Regions from separate parts of the Homo sapiens genome. Here region 1 is linked to region 2. Evidence: promoter capture Hi-C in 16 types of primary human blood cells and fetal thymus (Javierre and others, 2016). All regions are on one chromosome and are shown on one strand. The core of a region is centred on a gene start or on the middle of the fragment in contact, and the rest is flanking DNA. Distances in the headings are between cores, read along the strand shown.

Region 1 (4,472 bases), core at 1,646-4,145, 3.7 Mb after region 2:
AGTGGCCGCTACCACCAGGCCTCAGAGCCCAGGGGTAAACCACGGAGAGCAAGGGTGGGCGGCGGGTTGCAAAGGAAGCCGCAGGGCCAAAGGAGAGGCGGAATGCGCTTCGACCAGAGCTCGACCCCAGGGCTGTAGCCGGAAAGGGGAGCAGGAAAGCGCGCAGGGAGAAGCGAGCGGAGGCCGAAGGCTGTCGAGTATCCACTCCCTGCGGGGCTTCGTCCCGGCCGGAGACCTCCGCCACCCCCGCGTCACCAACGGGAGCGCGCGCCCCGACAGCCCCAAAGCCTCATCTTTTCGACGCCGGGTCCTAGCGCCCGCTCGCGCCCTCGGAGACACATTCCCGAACCTATTTGTCTTCTCCCTTCTTCCCCACTACGCTCACACTCTTCTCCAGGTTCCCCCATTAAGGGCACCTCTCTACCTGGCGCTCTCGCGGTTCCTTAACTGCTCACCCCCATCTCCCTTTAGTGTGGTTCTCCCCACCCGTACTACAACTTCCCTCCCGCTACTCGACACGCCTCCTTCCCCAGGCGCGCGCTCTCCACCTGGTGCGTACGGAGATCGAACCCTCTCCTCCGAACCCCTCCTTTCGCCTTCCCCGCCTCCTCCCCTCCGCCTCGAGCACCGCGCGCGCGCATTCGGTCCCAGCCACCGCTAACACTACAGGCTGCTTACCCCCGCCCCCTCCACCCTACCCCTGGCGGCCTCAGGTTTGTGGGGCGTACGTAACTCGGGCGGGGAGGGTGAAGGTGGCAGACCCCCACTGCCCCACCCCCTACGGGGTGAGGCGGTCTAAGCTCGGGAAGCTGGGACACTGTTGTCTTCCCTTCCCCTGGGGAAGTTGGTAGAGTTTTCCCGACGGAGGACTCGGCGCAGAAACTTCCTCCGTCCTCCTCCTCCCCCCCCCCCATGCAGGCGACGCCGAGTGAGGCTGAGGCTGGGGGCGAATCGCCGCAGAGCTGCGTGTCGGCGGCGCATTCTGATTGGACAGCGGGGAAGCCCGTCAGCCTGTTGGCCCCGCTGATCCCGCCCCGTAGCGCAGGGCAGCCTTTAACCTTTAGCCCCAGTGGGCGCCAGCCACTCAGATCGCTTCTTGTTGGTATGTGTAGCGGCAGTGGCCGCCGGCGGAGCAGTCTGAGCCCGACGATGAGGCCGGGGACGGGAGCTGAGCGTGGAGGCCTCATGGTGAGTGAAATGGAGAGCCATCCTCCCTCGCAGGGTCCTGGGGACGGGGAGCGGAGATTGTCCGGCTCAAGCCTCTGCTCCGGCTCTTGGGTCTCTGCTGACGGCTTCCTGAGGAGACGGCCCTCGGTAAGGGATCAGTGGGGCAGGGGGAAGGCGGCACAATGAAAAACGGAGTGAGAAACAGGAAGCTTTCTCCGAAAGGAGAAGAAGATAAGAGTGGACGAAGGAAGAACTCGAGATGGTGGGATATGTTCTGAGGGAGAGAAGTGGAGGGTGGAAATGCACAAAGAGAAGGATGTGAGACCCTGGAAGTTCCCCGTGGGCTTGGCCTAGACAGATGCGTGGTGAAGGTGCTGGCTCTTGGGCGGGGTGAGCGTCTTGGAGCTTTAGGCCCGATTTTAGCTGGGAGGGGGAGGCAGGGGCTTGATACTGTAAGACTTTAACAGCGGCTGCCAAAATTTGTTTTCATTAGTCGTCGGGGTGGTCTGCAGGGGGAACTGTTGGGACAATTGGCAGGAGATAATTAGGTGGTTTTAATTTAAAACATAGAACAATGGACTCATCGGTAAAGAAAGTAGTTGTCTTTTTAAACTGCGTTAAAAAGGATGAATTAGTTGTTTGCATTTAGTGTCCGTGAGTGACAGAACCTCAGTCTTTGAAAATGTATTTTTGGCAGAAGGAATTTTACCTGTCTTAAAGGTTATGTTAGGAAATAAGTTTGTTAGGAGTGAATTGTGCCTGGGTAGCCATACTGTTTGTGTTTTGTAAGACCGACTCTCACCTGAGTTAATTGGATAGAGCATTTTAAAGTTTAAAATCAGTAGTGTTATAAAATAACAATAGCTGGCTATCTTTTATATCTGCATGAAATAGGAGAGTTGTTGTTTTCACCATAACAGTTTTAAAATTAGTATTCAATGTGTATCCTCCAAGCTTAGCAAGCCAATTAGTAGCTGGTTAAGTCAGTGCTTAAAAAAAAGAGAGAGAAAACCTATGATCCAGCGGTCCAGGATTCATCTTAACTTTTCCCATTTTTTTACGGAATTTGCAAGCTCGTTTTAAATACTAGCAGAATGCGTTTTGTTTGAAACAAGGTATAGACTAATCCAATGATGTTATTACACATAAGCTTAATATTATGTCGCTTCAGATAACTGATCTGTTGAAATGAGATTTTTGAGAAGCATTTAGTATTATTTGCTCATTTAAAAATGTTCACTGTTTTTCAGATGGGGCACCCTGGCATGCATTATGCCCCAATGGGAATGCACCCTATGGGTCAGAGAGCGAATATGCCTCCTGTACCTCATGGAATGATGCCGCAGATGATGCCCCCTATGGGAGGGCCACCAATGGGACAAGTAAGACTGTTTTTGTTTTATTTTGCATTTATTTATTTGTTTTTGCCTCAGGTATTCTATCAAGATTTCAGAATCTAGGTCAGTAGTTATAGCTGTTTAATGATTAGTTTATGCCCGAATAATTTCAAATAAGCCAAATGTTAAATCATGACTGTAACGGAAATTTGAATAATGGAAAAGTCTTCTGAGAAATTTAAATAATGAAAAAGTCTTCTGAGAAATTTACTGATGACCTCAAAACTAAGAATTTTTTTCTTTATTATTTAAAAGTAAAGTGTGGATCCAGGCTTTTATTTTTAATGATTATTTTTTCAAGAATGCCAATTGAAGTTGATGGTCTAAGTAAATATTATCTGATACAGCAACATAACTGATTTTGGTAGACCATGTAAATAAATAGAATCTGAAAATAGCTATTGTTTTGGTTTAGAGCGAATTTTATTCCTGAAATATCTTCCTCTTTGTGTGTTGGAGGAGGGTGAGGGAGGGTGGGGAGTTTGTGCTCTATAATTCTGATTCTTCATAGGACAGTGCCAATAGGTAGTTCATTTTCCACTTATACTATTTTTTTTTAATGCTTGTTGCTTCTACACTCCTGCTTATGAGCTGTCCCTTCCATCTCTAGCATAAATTGTAAATGGACATTTTGTAGGAGTGATTTGGATCAAAAGGTTTTAATGCTGATTCAGTGATTTCGGTAGAACTGAGTTTCTAGAGAAGCATCCAAGAAAGGTAACAGGTTCAGTTACCATGAGTAATTTTGTGCTTCATGTTAAGTTCTATAATAGATCTTTAGGTGGCTGGGTTATTTCCATTTGAGTATTTCCATAAATCATCAAAAATTTAGGCTAACAAAATATTTTGGAAGCCAATTTCATGTGATCTTTTGCTAATTAGTACTGTTTGATAATTGTTTAAGCTTTCATGGTTAAAGTTATTGGTGAAATTGCAGTGGGAAAAGGAGCTTGCTATGTGTCTGTCTCTTTTTACTTAACCTTAAGAGTAGAAGGGCTTAATGTCCAGTGATTTTCCTCTTTTTTTTTTTAATTTGGAATATTGCCCTTAATTTTGTTAAAAAACAAAACAAAACCTTTATTCAAAGGCACCAGCCCCAAAAGATTCTGCTTGCAGGAGTTCTTTAAATAAAAGAGCCTTTTATTCTGTTACTCTAGAATAACACAAATTTTAAAACTCTCTAGGTGATGGAGAAACAACTTTGATTCCTCTTCTGTTTCTTTCCATCTCTAAGGAGCAAGGAGCTCTTCTTGTTTTCTTGGTAGAGCTGCTCTAACTAGATAATGAGCTTTAAAAATATTTATTCTTTAAATGCTCTGGTTCTTATTTAAAATTAGTTTCTTTCCACAGAAAGATAAAATAAAACAATTTGCTACTGCCAGATGCTTCTCTCTTTTCTGGGGCCTTCTGTTTCCATTGGGCCAATCAAGGTAAGTTTTGCAAGGGATTGACCTGCTTACCCTTGCTGTAATGGTGCTATTGCACTACCAAAACCAAGATACCAGCTAGTCATAGTTCTAGTTAAAAAAAAAAATGCAGATTTTATTTTTTAAAAGTACTTTCATGTATCTCATTGACATAAGCTGGTCACAGTTTGCTTTATGGCCCTTTCTCTTTAGCTGTATCAGTGACCATCTTTCTAGTAAGTTTACTTGCTACTCGGTACACATCCATTCAAATAACTGATTTTTTTGGTGTGGTTTTCTTCTACTTTTTCCTAGGCTAATATATGCCACGTGCCTTTAAGTAGACCTAATTATTTAGATGTTTAGAATTCTTCTCCCTCTGAAGGCTCCTGTTAGTATAATAAATAAATGTTTTAGTAGGAGTTATGCCCTGAAAGTCCCAAAAGAATCTCCGCTGTTTTTGTCAGAATTATATAATTCCCTTTTATCCCCTTAATATTTC
Region 2 (4,922 bases), core at 831-3,330:
CACAACATGCAAGAATTCTTTGCCCAAATTTTCAAGCTAACTACATTCTTTGCCCATATTTTCCTACTTGAGTATAAGAAGGAAAAATATAGGATGGAAGCTAGTCTTTTGAAGTCTACTACTTGCCAGGTACATTGCTAGCAATTTTACACACGTCATAGCATTTATTATCCATATTTTGCCAATGAGACAATTGAGGCTGAGTTTTAAAAGATGACCTAAGGCCAAAGTCTTTGGCTCCCCGCTCCACAACTACCCTCAGCTGGAGTTTGTTCCACAGTTCAGTCGCTCATTGAGAAAACATTTATTGAGGGTGTATTACAAGCTAGTCACCCCTCTAGGCATTGGAGGTCACTCATTGAGAAAACATTTATTGAGGGTGTATTACAAGCTAGTCACCACTCCAGGCATTAGAGTTTTGAAAGTATGCAAGACAGAACAAGCCCTGCTACTCTCATAGAACTTACACGCTAGAGATGAAAGAAAACAACCAAACAGGATAAGTTCAGAGTTATAATAGTTTGCCAACATGAGTTATGCACAATAATCATCAAATCTTTTAAAATATCTACAATGAGATTAAATAGTTACAAAAAAAACTAAAGGGGGTGGTAACACTCACTAACAATTGGTAACACTGTGGCCCTTTTGTCAATTCCTGAACCAAGCCATTGCATCTTTGAATGAATCACAAGGGAGAAAGAAGGAAGCAGAGCTCTAATGCTGTTTAGAATTTCTTTATAAAATAAAGTGACTCTATAAGCTATGAGAATGGACAGTTGCAATGAATCCATTGTTGGTTCTCAAACCCAAAACCCCATATTTACCCATTTATTCATTAAAATATTGCTGTATTATTTCACGAGTTGATTTGTAAAAGTCAAGGGAGTGTTGTAATTTGACATAACGCCCCTGTGAGAAACAGAGGGGGGTTTCAACATCCACATCACAAGGTTCCCCAGACTGCACACGGTCTCCATTGGGCAATGGCATCCAGATGTCATGTGGTAGCCAGCAAGAACTGTAGGACTGGGACTAGAGTGGTCAGTAGCTACGAAGAAGTGCCTGGGCCCAGTGTGACAGCTGCCAGCACCGTCCACACGCCAAAAAGAAACTTCACATCTCTTTAAACTTGGAACACATGCAAAATACTAACAGTTTTGTTTTAGCAATAAAGACTCCCTGTCACTTACTAACTTCCTTCCCTCACCTATTTATACAAGTATAAGTTGACTAGCTGCTATTTCTATAGCTGCCTCCTATGATATTTATAATGTGTTGTGTGTGATTTGGGTTGCCCATGTCACTAACACTTTGCAAGAATTTGTGTTTGTAAATTACTCTGGAACTCTTCTGGGAGTGAATATTCCACTGCACAAGGTGGAAGCCAGACTAGAGACCATCTGCTAAGAGCAGCACTTCATTCACCCAGCTACACCTTCCTGCCAAAGCACTCTTTGCAAATCTATTTTTGCTGGTAGAAGTTACTACATAGGGAGTGGAGGCTGTTTTAAGTTATCAGTGTGCACCTTCCATTTCCTCCTAGGACGGTCACACGCCAGCAGCTGAGTTTCTCAAAGAAGCCTCAGCCCTCCTCCAGACTCGTTCTCACTCTTGCTTCGGAAGGGAGCAACAATCCTTATCAGACTAGCCGCATCTACAAGCTAAAAGTTTGCATGAACTTTCAATGGGGTACCAACCCTCGCCCCAAAAGTCCTGCCACTTTACTATTTTACAAATGCCGCCTCCAAAACATAAACAACGAAACCCTAGAGAAGAGCGAATCCATCTTCTGCTGGTGGGAAGAAATTCTAAATCTTTCCCGTTTCCCGCCACCACCTACCGCCAAGACTGGAGTCCCAGAACACTCGCCCGGGTCAGAAAGGGACCACTCCCCCCCTAGAATACTAGAGGCGGGGGAAGGGGTCTCCCAGGAAGCACACACCTGAGATAGATCCTCACGCGCGAGGGGCCAGCGGGCAGGAGCACCCAGTTCCTCCAGCCAGGGTGGAGTCGGCCTCCCCCCAGAATCAGAGCCTCGGCCCGGGTGCTCCCAGCGAGGCGCGCGGGGCTGTCACTCGAGGCGGGCTGGGCGGGTGTAACTCGAGCGCCGGGCGGGCCGCGCCCCCGCCTTCCCTCTTCCCGACTTCCTCCTCCCGCTCCCGCGCCTGCTCCCTCCCGGAGGCCTGACCAGGGCGGCGAGGCCGCCACCTCCTGCCCGGATACCTCGGGCCCAGGCTCCTCCGGCCCAGCGGGGAAACGCGGAAGTGGGGGCGGGAACCGGGGCCGGGGTTGGCGGGGGTGTGGGAGGGAAAAGCCAACAGCGGGCGGCGAGCGAGGTGGTCTCCGTGGCCCAATGAACGTGACTAGACGGGGACGCGGGTCCTGCCGCCGGGTGGGGTCGCGCAGCGCCACACGCAAGGGCCCTCGCCCCTGGCTGCAGTTCCTGCTTTGTGCCTCGGCGATGCCGGACTCCAGACCTCCGCCCCGCCTTGCCAGCGGGCTGGCGGACTGGAAAGCCTGAGCTAGGCCAGGCTGGGGAAGACGGTGGCGGTGTCCGATTTCCTGTGCCCTCGCCCATGCGGGCCGCCCTGGCCATCTGCCTGCGGGAGAGGAGACACTCGTCCGCCGGCACGCTGGCGGGGCTGGCTTACCTGACGACTTCTCGTTGTCCGCCCTGGGATCTGGCTTCTCCTACTCTGTACCTCCCGGCCGGCAGGCTTCCCTAGGCCTACAGACGTGTCCAGGAGGCGGGCGACCCTGCGACCCCGCCGTCAGAGCCCAGAACCCTCGCCCGGCTCCCCCGGCGGGCTCTGGAGGCGCGCCAGGCCTCCTGGCTCCCCGCCTGAATGTCAGCGCAGGGACCCGCAGGGAAGACCAAGCCCAAGCTCCAGGGGGTGGAATGCTGAGCACAGGTTCCCCAGACCCAGCCTCATACAGGTGGGGGGAGGCGGAGAGCCCCGGCAGCTGAACAGCAGGCTTCCCACTTGCAACCCCCCGCCACCCAAAAAAAAAAAACGACCCTGCCCACTGAGCATGCCCAGCTTACTTGTTGGAACTCCTAGGGCTAGACAAGCCCAAGGGGACCTAAGGAAGGCAAAGTTGGGGCTCAAATGGACCCCACTTCTTTAACAGCTTTGCTCCGAAGACCTCTGGGTGCTGTACTAATAACCTTTCTATCGTGGTATTGGAAAATATCCAGGAGATGGACGGAAATGCCTTTCCAAAAGAAGGAAGAAAATTAGTGTGAACCAAAAAGCAGTGGTATTTTTTTAAATAAAGTATTAAGTCACTCATTTAATGTCCTTAAATACCGCAGAATTCCTGTAGTTGACCCAGAGGAATGCATATATTTATTAAATCCCAAACTCAGTAACTTCAGGGAACCATCCATAGTCCACAGAGGAGCAATGATTCTCACCCTTGGACACATTAAAATTGGGGGGAGGGGGCAGGGAGGGGTGGAATGCCAGATTTCCATCCCCAAGTCCAATGAGTCAGTCTGGACGTGGGATCTGCAAGTCCTTGTATTTTAAAACTGGCTCTAAAAGTGTAGTCACTGGAGCCCGCAGCATCAGCATCACCTGAGAACTTGACAGAAACTGTACTCCAGTGACCTGATTCATAGACTCTGGGGCTGGGGCTGAGCTACCCAGATTTAACAAGCCCTTTGGGTAGTTCTGATGCACATTAAAGTTTGAGAACCACGGTTTAAAAGCTCCCCCAGTTGAATCATGAGCAACCAGAAAAAGGAAATTGTAGTTGAGAAAAGAAAAATAGTTCAGAGCATTTGAGCAATGTGAGGTATGCAAAATTTATCAGGCCCAGAGAGACCTTGAATATGGGACATAAGTTGCACCCCCCACACTCATGCTCAGAGGCGATTGTTTAAAGGCATTTTGTTCATGACTGACTACCCAACCATATCTTCATGTTCCTGGAATTTGTGATACGAAGAACAATCTATAGACAATTAATAGTTTGTTTTTTTATGTAAATTATTGGTAAACAATTTAGAAACTGCCTCTTCTTTTCCTTTAAAAACTTCCTTGTGGCCGGGCAGGCGCAGTGGGTCACGCCTGTAATCTCAGCACTTTGGGAGGCTGAGGTGGGCAGATCACGAGGTCAAGAGTTCAAGACCAGCCTAACCAACATGGTGAAACCCTATCTCTACTAAAAATACAAAAATTAGCCGGGCATGGTGGCAAACACCTGTAATCCCAGCTACTCAGGAAGCTGAGGCAGGAGAATCACTTGAACCTGGGAGGCAGAGGTTACAGTGAGCTGAGATGGCACCACTGAACTCCACCCTGGGCAACAGAGTGAGACTCCATCTCAAAAAATAAATAAATAAAAACTTGTGACTGGGCAACATCATGAGACTGGTTATATTAAGTATGCCTCAGTTCTTTTTTCTTTAGTTTGACAAATCAAACCAATATTTTTATCATTTTTTTCAAACCCTCATCATTTATCTAGAAATGCAACATGTTACCCAGAAAAGGAATAATCTGGTTGAGTTGGGTGCCAGTCCTGGATTTCCTTCTCACTGATTATCCCAGATCAGTTCAGTGCTTGGGAAATGGGACCATCAGTTACTCACTTTTGTACTCTAGTGCCTAGCATAGTGCCTGAATATAACTGATGTTTAAATGTTTCTTGATTTGAAATGAATGCTTAGGTGAGCGATCTGGTCCAATCCATACTATGTCAGCTGATTATTTTCCCCACTAGTCCTAGTCACACTGCTAGCTAGTGTAACCGCCCAAGGGGTTCACCTTGCCCGCTGCCTAGACAGAGTCGATTGATCAAGACAAGGGAATTGCAAGAGTAATTCACGCAAAGCCAGCTGTGCGGGAGACCAGAGTTTTATTATTACTCAAATCAGACTCCGGAGCATTCGTGGAGCGGATTTTTTAAGG

Evidence for each region. Contacts are between HindIII fragments. The CHiCAGO score rates a contact against its expected background, and 5 or more counts as called.
Region 1: a fragment that was not itself captured here is called in contact with the fragment with the promoter of GPD2 in region 2 in 1 of 17 cell types (M0 macrophages); the score reaches 7.0 in M0 macrophages.

What each region holds. Positions count from the first base shown.
Region 1 is chr2:152,714,072-152,718,543 of GRCh38, reverse strand. PRPF40A (pre-mRNA processing factor 40A) reads left to right here and starts at 1,083. Exons shown (of 26, transcript NM_001365597.4): 1 at 1,083-1,314; 2 at 2,418-2,549. The coding sequence starts at 1,105. It also overlaps a transcript of ARL6IP6 not described here. RefSeq lists enhancers at 184-273, 294-363, 1-535, 1,084-1,383 and a silencer at 584-683. The HindIII fragment of the contact is 1,151 bases long and covers 2,320-3,470 here.
Region 2 is chr2:156,433,537-156,438,458 of GRCh38, reverse strand. GPD2 (glycerol-3-phosphate dehydrogenase 2) reads right to left here and starts at 2,080. Exons shown (of 17, transcript NM_000408.5): 1 at 1,946-2,080. RefSeq lists silencers at 1,959-2,368, 2,809-2,978 and an enhancer at 2,519-2,568. The HindIII fragment of the contact is 5,965 bases long and covers 1-4,922 here.